3 separate regions of the Homo sapiens genome follow, and regions 2 and 3 are each linked to region 1. Evidence: promoter capture Hi-C in 16 types of primary human blood cells and fetal thymus (Javierre and others, 2016). All regions are on one chromosome and are shown on one strand. The core of a region is centred on a gene start or on the middle of the fragment in contact, and the rest is flanking DNA. Distances in the headings are between cores, read along the strand shown.

Evidence for each region. The method cuts DNA at HindIII sites, captures the fragments that hold promoters and counts their contacts. A CHiCAGO score of 5 or more calls a contact.
Region 2: a fragment that was not itself captured here is called in contact with the fragment with the promoter of DIO2-AS1 in region 1 in 1 of 17 cell types (endothelial precursors); the score reaches 5.1 in endothelial precursors.
Region 3: a contact is called between a fragment that was not itself captured here and the fragment with the promoter of DIO2-AS1 in region 1, in 1 of 17 cell types (endothelial precursors). The highest score is 5.4, in endothelial precursors.

Annotation. Positions count from the first base shown.
Region 1 is chr14:80,209,364-80,213,043 of GRCh38, reverse strand. It overlaps DIO2-AS1 (DIO2 antisense RNA 1), which reads right to left and starts at 1,625. Exons shown (of 9, transcript NR_038355.1): 1 at 1,556-1,625. DIO2 (iodothyronine deiodinase 2) reads left to right here and starts at 1,540. Exons shown (of 2, transcript NM_013989.5): 1 at 1,540-1,793. The coding sequence starts at 1,572. The HindIII fragment of the contact is 6,513 bases long and covers 256-3,680 here.
Region 2 is chr14:80,835,986-80,839,613 of GRCh38, reverse strand. CEP128 (centrosomal protein 128) reads left to right here. Exons shown (of 25, transcript NM_152446.5): 11 at 1,336-1,410; 12 at 3,277-3,409. Among named protein-coding and RNA genes, the nearest start is that of CEP128, 100 kb to the left of the region's middle. The HindIII fragment of the contact is 6,066 bases long and covers 1-3,628 here.
Region 3 is chr14:80,870,200-80,873,938 of GRCh38, reverse strand. All of the region lies in intron 8 of CEP128 (centrosomal protein 128), which reads left to right. Among named protein-coding and RNA genes, the nearest start is that of CEP128, 70 kb to the left of the region's middle. The HindIII fragment of the contact is 1,801 bases long and covers 1,476-3,276 here.

The DNA of each region.
Region 1 (3,680 bases), core at 376-2,875:
TCAGGTCTCTTAGGGGTTATGCTAACAGAAGCAGGTGAAACACCAAATTTAAAGAGCTTTCATTAATAATTTCTCAGCCTTATGGCTTCTTAATGCTATTCAATGGAAAGTTTTAATTTTATCTGCAAAATGAAGCTAAAAGAATGTCGCCTAGCTCCTTCCCTGTCTGGAGGAACTTGGATTTTTTTTTTTTTTTTCATTAGAAGCTTGGGTAAAACTAAAAAGAAACCTGTATTCAAGTTTCTGCAAGAAGCTTTAAAGAAATGCTGGGATGGTACTCAAATAGTTTACAAGTTTTCCACCTACAACTCATTTTGCATTTTCTTAAATAAGATAATGACTCAAAAAAATTTAAAGGACCTAGGTCACAGATCTTACAAAGGGTTGGAGTCATGGTATAAAGGTATAAAGATTGTATATAAATGTTCATATTTTCCAAGAAACAGAGCAAAGACCGCCTGTGATAACTCTTCCTTTTTTCTACCTGCCTTCCAGGATCCTTTCTTTCCAAAACCCCTCATAAATTAATGATAATGATAATCAGAAGAGAGAGTGTTGGCCATATCAATCTGCACATTATATTAAATTACTTTTCCCAAAGTTTGGAAGCATTTCCTGAAGGCTGTCAAGGGTATTAGTTTTTTTCTCTCTTTAAATCACAAAGCAAAATTCCACTGTCTCTCCCCAACCCCTTCTAAAAAAAAAAAGTTGTCGAGTTTTGCTTTTCTATTCACTGCAATCCTGGCCAAAGTAAAGCCCTCTTTCTCAATGACGTCAAGATCTTTACCAAGATTAGGCTTTCACTTCTCTATTGCAGCAATTAGCCAGGGAATGTATAAAAGGCGTCAGGGAGACTCACTGGGCTGCAGAGAGAGGCACTTTGCACCACAGACAGATAGCAAGAAGGGAAAGACAGAGAGTGAGAAAAAAGAGGAGTCAGTCGCTCCTGGGGAAGGGAGAGAGTGAGACTGGGAGAAAGAGAAGCACAGAAAGTGTGTGTAAAACGGAGTAAAGAAAGAAAAAAAAAAAACTACCCTTAAAGCACATTTAAAAAAAAAAAAAACTCTGGCAATTCAAGAAAGAAACAGGCTACGTTTAAAGAGCATAGAGACAATGAAAGGCTAAAGAAAATTTTAAAATCTCTGCCACAGTCTCATAGGTGCTTGGAAATGAAAGTAGAACTGCCTGTCTTTAACGGACTCTGACAGAGGTAACTGGATTAGGGACGAGTACGCCAGCTTTTTTTTTTTTTTTTTTTTTTTTTTTTTAACATCTTAAATCCTGAAAAAAAAAAAAAAAAAAAAAAAAAGGCAGCAGCTCCGAATTGAATGAATTGATGGGCACACTCCAACTGCTGGGCTGGAGAGACTGGACTTAGTCTTGCCATTTCTGCTTCTTTGAAAGAGGAGACAACTTGGGCTTCCTTTTAATTTAGTTTTTTTTCCCCTTCTCCCCCAACCCCCAACCTTCCCCCTTACCTCCCCCACCCCCTTTATCACCACCCCCCTTTTAAATAAGAGGGTGAAGGGGAACCAGAGCGCACAAGGGAACTGACTCAGGAGGCAGAGAAGATGGGCATCCTCAGCGTAGACTTGCTGATCACACTGCAAATTCTGCCAGTTTTTTTCTCCAACTGCCTCTTCCTGGCTCTCTATGACTCGGTCATTCTGCTCAAGCACGTGGTGCTGCTGTTGAGCCGCTCCAAGTCCACTCGCGGAGAGTGGCGGCGCATGCTGACCTCAGAGGGACTGCGCTGCGTCTGGAAGAGCTTCCTCCTCGATGCCTACAAACAGGTGAGCTGAGCTGAGAAGGGCTTCTCCCTAGGTCTACAGGGGCAGGGGCTCATATGCTGGGGACCAGAGGCCATTGGGAGCATTGGGGGGAGAGCTGTGAAGCCCTATTTGTGGGGTTGCCAAGTGAGCCTCTAAGTTTACTTTCCACACCTGTTGCACAGGTTAGCTTGGGAGGGTGACAGCTATTAAGCCATAATGACTCTGTGTGACCTAATAAGGAATCTTTCTACTAAGGGTTATTAATATCTTGCTGTGATTTGGGAGTAGAAGGCATTGTGCTGGTACGATAACTTGGGAAAAGTCAGAAAATGATGGAGAAGAGGAGACTGCTGCATTTATTCTGCTCTTGCCATAAACTGGAATTTTGATTTTTTGCTTGATGGGAGGCTGAGGTACACTGAGGAAGTATGTTCGAGGGGTGGGTACTGAAAAGCAAGAAATGAGAAATGCTACTCAGAACTCTCAGAGAGTTGACAAGATAAGAAAGTGGTCATAGAAATTGTGATTGGGCATCATAGCTGCTTGGTTTCTGGTAGAGGTAAGAGTTAATGAAAGCAAGCAGCTGTGTGCCACCTCCTCTACATTGATTCAAATTTGAACCCTTTGGAAGCGATTTTCAGGCAGTGATCCTGAGTTACTAGATATCAACTTGCGAAAGAAAAGTCTGAAAACTAGCTGTCAGAAATCCAGCATTTGTAAGGGAAGCCTCCTTTACTTTGTTTCTCAAAAATAAAATACGTTGCCCTAGAAAGAGATGATGGGTCTGTGATTCATTAAATCTCAGAGCTGTTATGAGCATTAGAGCAGTGGTCTCCCTTACCTGCTCAGGTAGTGCCCAGGGGCTGCTCTCTCAAAATCAGAGGTAGTGATCTTAGTTTCTAAGTGAAAAATACTGTGTTCCAGGCTTTTTGCTGGTGAGAGATGTTAGTAGAGCATTTTCAACTAAGATCTTCAGGGGCACAGAGGATGATTTTCGCCCTGGTCTTTTGTCAGTTTTCCCCCACCTGCTATGCCCATATGACTTCTAAAGGTCCCCTCCACCCCCTCAACCAGGCTTGAGAAGAATGAACTATTTTGGCAAAAGTAGTTATCAAAATAGACAATCTTGGTTTCCCTAAAAGTGTTGTGGGACCTTGCCCAAGATGCCAGAAAAAGCAACTGTACATCTGTATTTTAGAGGAATATAGAAGCCAGGTGTTCAGTGAAGTGGTGTGTTTTAGGCAGGCAGCACCTTAGAACCAGAGACGGGGAACTCGAAATAATAGAGACGCAAGGGAATGCATCCTCCATAAATAAACACTAGAAAACTAAAACCATGCGCCAAGAAAAGAGAAGAAGTAACTTGTAAAATTACAAAGAATTCAGGACAGGATTGTTCTTCTGAAAATCAGATGTTCAAGAAGAAAATATCTGTTGTGAACTAGGGAAATTTTACCACAATGCACGTCTTTATTATTGATAGTAACCCAAAGAGGGTTTGTGTTTATTGTTGTTAAAAATGTGAATAGTAAGAGCTCTTATTAGTAGATGGAAATTCTTTTATGAGAATATGAATTGGTGCTCAAAGTTCTAACAGTAAAAACTCATTTATATTGTGCATGTCAGTGAGGACGGGAGATCTAGAAAAGTAGATATTGAATTGATTATTTCATTTCCACAAAAGTATACATTGAATGGGAAGTTTTTAATGGTTTGTTTTAGTGGAAGGCAATTTGGAGGCAGGTGGAGGAGTACACAAGTATATCAGACATATTATTAATTAGGAAGTTCCCTCTTCAACATCATATTTTATACGTGTTAGCAGATACCATGGAAATATCAGTGATTTGATCTCAGTATATTAAACTCTTACTTTTTGGAAGGACAATTGCCTTTTGCCTATAAAGT
Region 2 (3,628 bases), core at 69-2,568, 630 kb before region 1:
TTCAATATCAAAACCAGGAAATTGGTGTTGGTACAATCTACTTAGTTTATACAGATTTCACCAGCTTTATATATATAACTCATTTGTATTTGTGTGTGTGTGTGTGTGTTTGTGTGAAGTTCAGTCCATTTTTATCTTGTATAGATTCTTGTTACCACTACCACCGTCAGGATACAGAACTGTTCTATCACCACAAGGCTCCCTCATGTTCTTTCATAGGCACACCTACCACATGTACAGTTATTAAATGATTAATATACAGATAGCAGTTGTTCAACTGAAATGATAATTTAGGATAAGTGTTACAAATCTAAGCACTTACAAGCATCTTAATATAAATGTGTGATTTTTATAAAACTATCTTACTGTTACAGAATGCAAACAAGTCTAGCACATATAAGCTCTAAATTGTTAAGAAACTTGTGTTCTATCCTATTACATATTTCAACTTGAAATCATCTAGGCATGTTAGGAGTTTGTAGAATATTTAGTCACTTAACTGGTCACATTTTTTTGAGACGGAGTCTCGCTCTGTTGCCCAGGCTGGAGTGCAGTGGCGCGATTTCGGCTCACTGCAAGCTCTGCCTCCCAGGTTCACGCCATTCTTCTGCCTCAGCCTCCCGAGTAGCTGGGATTACGGGTGTCTGCCACCATGCCTGACTAATTTTTTGTATTTTTAGTAGAGATGGGGTTTCACCGTGTTAGCCAGGATGGTCTTGATCTCCTGAACTGGTCACATTTTTTATCGATATTTATCTAATGGCAGTATCATTAAGGAAATTTTAAATGTCTCATTCTGAATTTAGACATCTAAAAATTTAAGGAATGTCTTATAAATATTAGAAATATTAGGAATGTAGGAAATCACCAATTAGATGAAACTTTTGAGTTATTGGGTCCCTGCAGTTTTTATTCTACTTTAGTTAATTTGACACTGTGTATTCTAATTTAAAGAAAAAAATTGCCTTAGAATTTAGATTAAAGAGATTTAGAACTGGAAGGGATCTTGGAGACTGTTTAATATAAAATACTTATTTTAGAGATGATAGAATGGAGGCCAGAGGAGGAGAGACTTGGACTGGCTCACAGTTGAGATGAAACTTACTAGATCCCAGACTTCCTGAGGCCTGGTCTGGTTCACTTTATGTTATACGATTCACATTATTTTAATGGAAGTATTGATATATGTTCATAGTGAGATATTTATTCTTTTATATTAGCTGTAAATGTCTTCTGAAAACTTTTCCACTTTTCTCCTTTTAAACTGTGCCCATAATAATTTAGTTATCTTCTGCTCCATTGGGCATTTTTCTTTATCCTTTGTTGAAACTCTAGCTTGAACAGGAATTGGAGCTATCTCGAAGGTTATTGAATCAATCAGAAGGCAGCCGAGAAACACTTTTGCATCAGGTAAGTCTATGCAAGTTATTATAATATACTTTTACATTAAATCAGGATTGAGTAGCTCTATTTAAATGTCTTTGTGAAAGGAAAAAAAAGAACTAGGTCTAGAAAAAATGTTTTCCTAAGGAATGTATATTAGCACACCTAAGCAAAGGATAAAATTCTTTCAGGGAAATTCAGAGAAAGCTAGTACAAACACCAGCCAGAGTCCCCACTGTGATGGTGTATCTTGCTGATTGCTGCTACAACTTACTACTTATCTGTCTTAGCATGAGCAGTGTAAAAGTAAGACTGAATGTATAAGATAAAATTTTCCCAGGAGCTTAATTTTATTCCAGGAGGCACTGGGAAGTAAAGGAAGAAGTAAACTACATGCAGCAGACCTTTGCATGTTTAGGTTACTTTGAATAACGTCATTGTCTTTAATTCATGTTTTCAAGATACTACTTGACCCTTTTAAACCAAAGATAAGGGTAATTTTATTTTATTTTTTTTGAGACGCAGTCTCGCTCTGTTGCCAGGCTGGAGTGCAGTGGCGCAATCTTGGCTCACCACAACCTCAGCCTCCCGGGTTCAAGCGATTCTCCTGCCTCAGCCTCCCAGTAGCTGGGATTACAGGCATGCGCCACCACACCTGGCTAATGTTTTGTTTTTTTAGGAAAGATGGGGTTTCACCATGTTGGCCAGGATGTTCTCGATCTCCTGACTTCGTGATTCCCCACCTCGGCCTCCCAAAGTGCTGGGATTATAGGTGTGAGCCACCACGCCCGGCCGATAAGGCTTAATTTTAAAGTATAACGTTTTGCATTCCATCAGCCCATAATGGGAGTTTGGCGCTTCTGATGTTTAAAGTTCAGTAACTTTAAATAACCATCTTACATACATTGGATAAGGGCATATGGGTTTCTAACTGCCTGTCTGTGTTTAATACAAACTGCAATTATACTTTCTTCTGTTTTGAAGTGTATGTTATATAACACACCTTCAGAATATGCTAAGGGTAAGCAAAGATGTCAAGCATTATAGATGTTCAGAAGGAGTATTACATTCTGACAATTGGTGCTGAAAATACAAGATAGCACCTGTTTTACAAAACCTTTGAAAATATTCGCTGACTTTGTTCTGCAGCCAGTGGTCACATGGAATTAATTTTGGCAGAGTTCAAACTTTCCTTTTTGGAAGTTTATATTTGTATTTAATTCCGTTCTGATTTGTTTGGAACTCTAACTTATAATCTCCAGTTTCAGTTATGGAAGCAAGAGATTTCTTTGTTTAGATTGTCATTGTGATTTTAGCTGAATCTTTTTGCCACTGTTAACTTGTTTAATGTTCATTTGGAAGTACCTGCTATGTGCTAGGTAATTTGGCAGTCTAAGGATAGAAAGATAAACAAATCAGTTTCTGACTTCAAGGAGTTTAGAGTTTATTCAACAGCATCTATTACATACTTATTTTGAGCATGATTTTAGTATCAAAATATGCTAAATCATGATCATTTATCTTGAATTTAACAACCAATAGACCATGTTCACATGAAAGCAAATGGGTGAAAATTGAAAAATATAAGAAGTATAATACTTAATTGAAGTTGATTTGGGTTAATAGTAATGGAGTAGACTGAGGACAAAATAAGTGATGAAAAAAAAAATCTAGTCACATTCCATTCTTTGCCTCAGTGGACACAGAGAAGGAAAAGCCATTCATTTATTCTTTGTGGAAGAGATGAGAGGAATGAGGAAATGGAGCAGGAAACCGTTCCACTATGCTTGGAAGGAGATTAACCTGGATTCAACTTGTGTTTACAATAGCCCATTTGAAGTAGGTCTTTCTCTGATTGTGAAAACCGATGTTTGATTTTTGACCATGTGTTAGGTAGAAGAACTGCGTACACAACTTACGAAAGCAGAAGGTGATCGAAAGGGTTTACAGCATCAAGTATCTCAGATTTCCAAGCAACAGTCAAACTATCAGGATGAACAAGGGGAGGACTGGAGATTTAGGAGAGGTAAAAGTAGATTTGTACCTAATAATGTGATAATGTGTGTGGGGGCTTTTTGGTTTTTCTTAGAAAATACTTTTCATCCTCAGAATTGCATTCCTTTGTGATGCTCACGTCATACTATTTCTTGATCTATTAAACATTTTCTGATAAGTTGATAATAATTCAGCATCATCCCATTTTAATATCTTCCCTGCTTGGTTCAAACCCATTTGGGTTATTAGA
Region 3 (3,739 bases), core at 1,127-3,626, 660 kb before region 1:
GTCTTACATGGATGACAGCAGGCAAAAAGAGAGAGCTTGTGCAGGGAAACTCCCGTTTCTAAAACAATTTTATTTAAAATATTCTTATTTTATTTAAAATATTTTATTTAAAATATTCGTGATGTTAAAAATATCACGGGAATAGTGCAGGAAAGACCCGCCCCCATAATTCAATCACCTGCCACTGGGTTTCTCCCATGACACGTGGGAATTGTGGGAGTTACAATTCAAGATGAGATCTGGGTGGGGACACCACCAAATTATATTACTTCTAAACAGGATTTGATCTAAATTCAGATATCCTTAATATTCTACTGAGGTCCCTGTAAAGCTGAGTGAGCCATGGTCATATCCAGCTGTACTGTCATGCTGTTTTTTGAAACTATTAGATAGTTAGGATGGTTTCAATTTGGGGTTTAATAGTACCAATTTGCATAGTGCACATTACATTTATTGTTTCACCTTTCACCACGTGACAAGAGAACCCATAATAAACAGTTATCATTTTATTTGGATTTCTTTCACATAGCAAATAAAACTAGTAAGTATTATCTATATATAGTCTACAGTTTTACTTTGTATTTAAAATGTAGCCACTGAGTAAAAAGTTAGCAGTTAGCTGAATTCAGAGAGAGCTCAAACTCTTTCACATAATTATTGCCATGCATCAAGAATGACTCCATATCACATAAAGTGCAACTGGATGTCACTCCTCACTGGTGCCCAGCTCATTGGTGTAATTGCTGTATAAAACATGCTAGTTTACCCAGCTATCCCCTCTGCCCAGCTCATGAGGACACAGCCTTTTATATTGTCTAAACCCAGAAAATTGTGCCCACATAATTGTACACTCAGTTGAATTGTTCATGTGCCAGTTCCTTACATCAAGTTGTGATGTTACACCTTGTTTTGTGCTTTGTGTAATTTGCTGTCAAAGTAAGATTGTCTCATAATTGCACGAAGGGCATCTCAAATTTCTTATGGGTGTGTATAGTCCTGATTAAGAAAAAAATGTCCAAAGTGAAACTTAATAATAACATTGTTGGAATTAAGAAGGTCTTCTGAAGGCCACATGATGTTTGTTTCCAGGGCTTAATATAGACTTTGTGACTCATTCCAATTGAAGTCAACATTTATGTTTTATAACTGGTCGATGTATTGTGTTGTATTTGTGAATTCATAACCTGCTGTCAGAGAAGATGGTTTCATTATTTGAGTGTTAAGCTTCTCAGAGACTGCAGCTGTTTCCCCTGCTTCAGATTTAAGTTTAAAATAAAATTACCAAAATGATGCACCTTCACTGTGGCAAACTTAAATATTGTACATACATAAAGTGAAAATAAATGCTGCCCCTATTTCTTGCCAATTTCACTTTCTACTGGTAAGCCCTCTTAATCACGTTTATTGTGTATTATTCTGAGGCTACAGTTGTTTATCATGCATTTTCTCAGTGACTAAAATATATCTTGAAAGCTTATGGAACACATTTTTCTTTGAGAGACAAAAAGTTGTGGTTGCTGTCATATATGTCAGTATTTGATGTGTTAATCTTTTGTGAATCATAAATATTTTTTGCTAATGTCAAATTGTCCATTGGAAGGGAAGAGTTATTGTTTATAGTATGATGTCATGGAAAATATTTTCTATTAACACTTAATTGTGGTGATACGCAATCAATATTGCATAGGCCTTATACCATATGGGAAATTTCAGTTTATTAGTTGTCTAGATTTTATTGAGCTGAGTGTGATATGACTGCATGTTATTTGATTATTTTTGGAGGAAAAAGTCAATTCTATTTTAGTTTTCTATAGGAGGATCACTATTAAAAATAAAAATGTAAACATGGATCCAGCTGTTTCTGGAAGGGTTGACCATTAATAGAGTTTATAAGAATTCTGTCAATACTGCATTTAGAATAACAGGATTATTGCATAGATCACAGCAGCAGGATATATAACATATTTATTTAAGTGGACTTTGAAGCACCAGGTATTGTTAAAGATCTGAGGAATCAACATATTGAAAAGCGAGAATACCATCTTTTAAACAGAATGCTTTTTCTTTTGTTTGACCTTTCATTAAATACTAATCTTAAAAGCCATTCTAATTTTTATTCTTGTTATTTTGCTATTTTTATAACCAAATATGGAGATTTAGGAATTTTTGGTATTCTAGTCTTAAACTTAGTTGATAATGGTATTCTGGTAAATATGAATTTTTTAGTATTGGATTACATTTCTAATATTTTTCCCTTAGGTCTCAGAGAAAGAAAAAATAAAGAAGTTCTAAAATATACTTTCTTTAAAATAATTCTTATTATTAGGAATTATGTCATCACTCAAAAGCTATAAATATATGTCTTTAGGTTAAGGTCCACAACCTTCATTTAGGGTTGTTTTTACTTACTTTGGTCTTCACTGTCTCAGGAAATGGCATCATATTCCATCCAGCACGTTAAGCTGGTCACCAAGGATTCATCTAGATCCATTTCTTTACACCATACTTCCAATCCATTACAAAATCCTGTCCCTTTAATTTCTGAAATCTTGCTCAATTCCATCTACTTCTAATACTACTTTTCAAGCTACCATCTCTTCTCAGTGGGTTTACTGCAGTGGCATCCAATGAAGTTGGTCCCTCTGCTCCCATACCTGCCTTTATCTGTGCTTCTCACTGCAGGCAAATTATTTTTTTAAATTGTCATTATGTTTAATTATTCCTCCAGGTTTAAAAATCCTACCTGGGTTTCTTTCGTTCCAAATTCTTTACCATGGTCTATAGTGCCTACGTTATGTGGCTTTCTCTGTATATCTTGATTTTTTTTTCCACTGGCTATTTTCTTTTACCAAGATTTTACATTGCTGACTTCCTCTTTCTTTAATTTTTTTTATTTTCAGAGTACAAATCTTTCATCACCTTAGGTAAATTTATTTCTTCGTATTTTTTGGGTGCTATAGTGAACAGGACTTTTTTTTTTTGAGTTGTTATGTATAGAAATGCTGCTGATTCTTGTATGTTTAATTTTGATTTCTGCAACTTTACTGAATTTGTTTATTACTTCTAACAGTTTTTTTTAGGGGCCTCTTTAGGGCTTTCTGTATATAAGATCATGTCATCTGAAAACAGGGACAATTTGACTTCTTCCTTCCTCATCTAGATGCCTTTTATTTCTTTTTCTTGCATACTTGCTTTGGCCAGGACCTTCAGTACTACGTTGAATGGAAGTGTTCATACTGGGCATCCGTGGCTTTTTCTGATCTTAGGGAAAAAGCTTTTAGATTTTTACTGTTGAGTACTATGTTAGCTGTTGGCTTGTTGTATATGGCCTTTATTATGCTAAAATAAACTCATTCTATGTCTAATTTATTGGAAGTTTCTCTTTTTATCATGAAAGGATGTTGAATTATATTAAATGCTTTTTCTGCATCTATGGAGAAGACCATATGATTTTTATTCTTTATTCTGTTAATATGGTATGTTACACTTATTGATTTGCAGCTTTGTATTCTGGGGATAAATACTAAGTGATCATGGTGTAATGATTGGTGTAATGATTCTTTTAATGTGCTACTGAATTTGGTTTGCTAGTATTTTGCAGAGGATTTTTACATCTGTGTTCATCGGGGATATTGGCTTGTAATTATCTTTTTTAGTAGTGTCTTTGGTCTCATGGTACTGCTGGCCTCATAGGATGAGGTTGGACATGTTCTCTTATCTTCAGTTTTTTGGAAGAGCT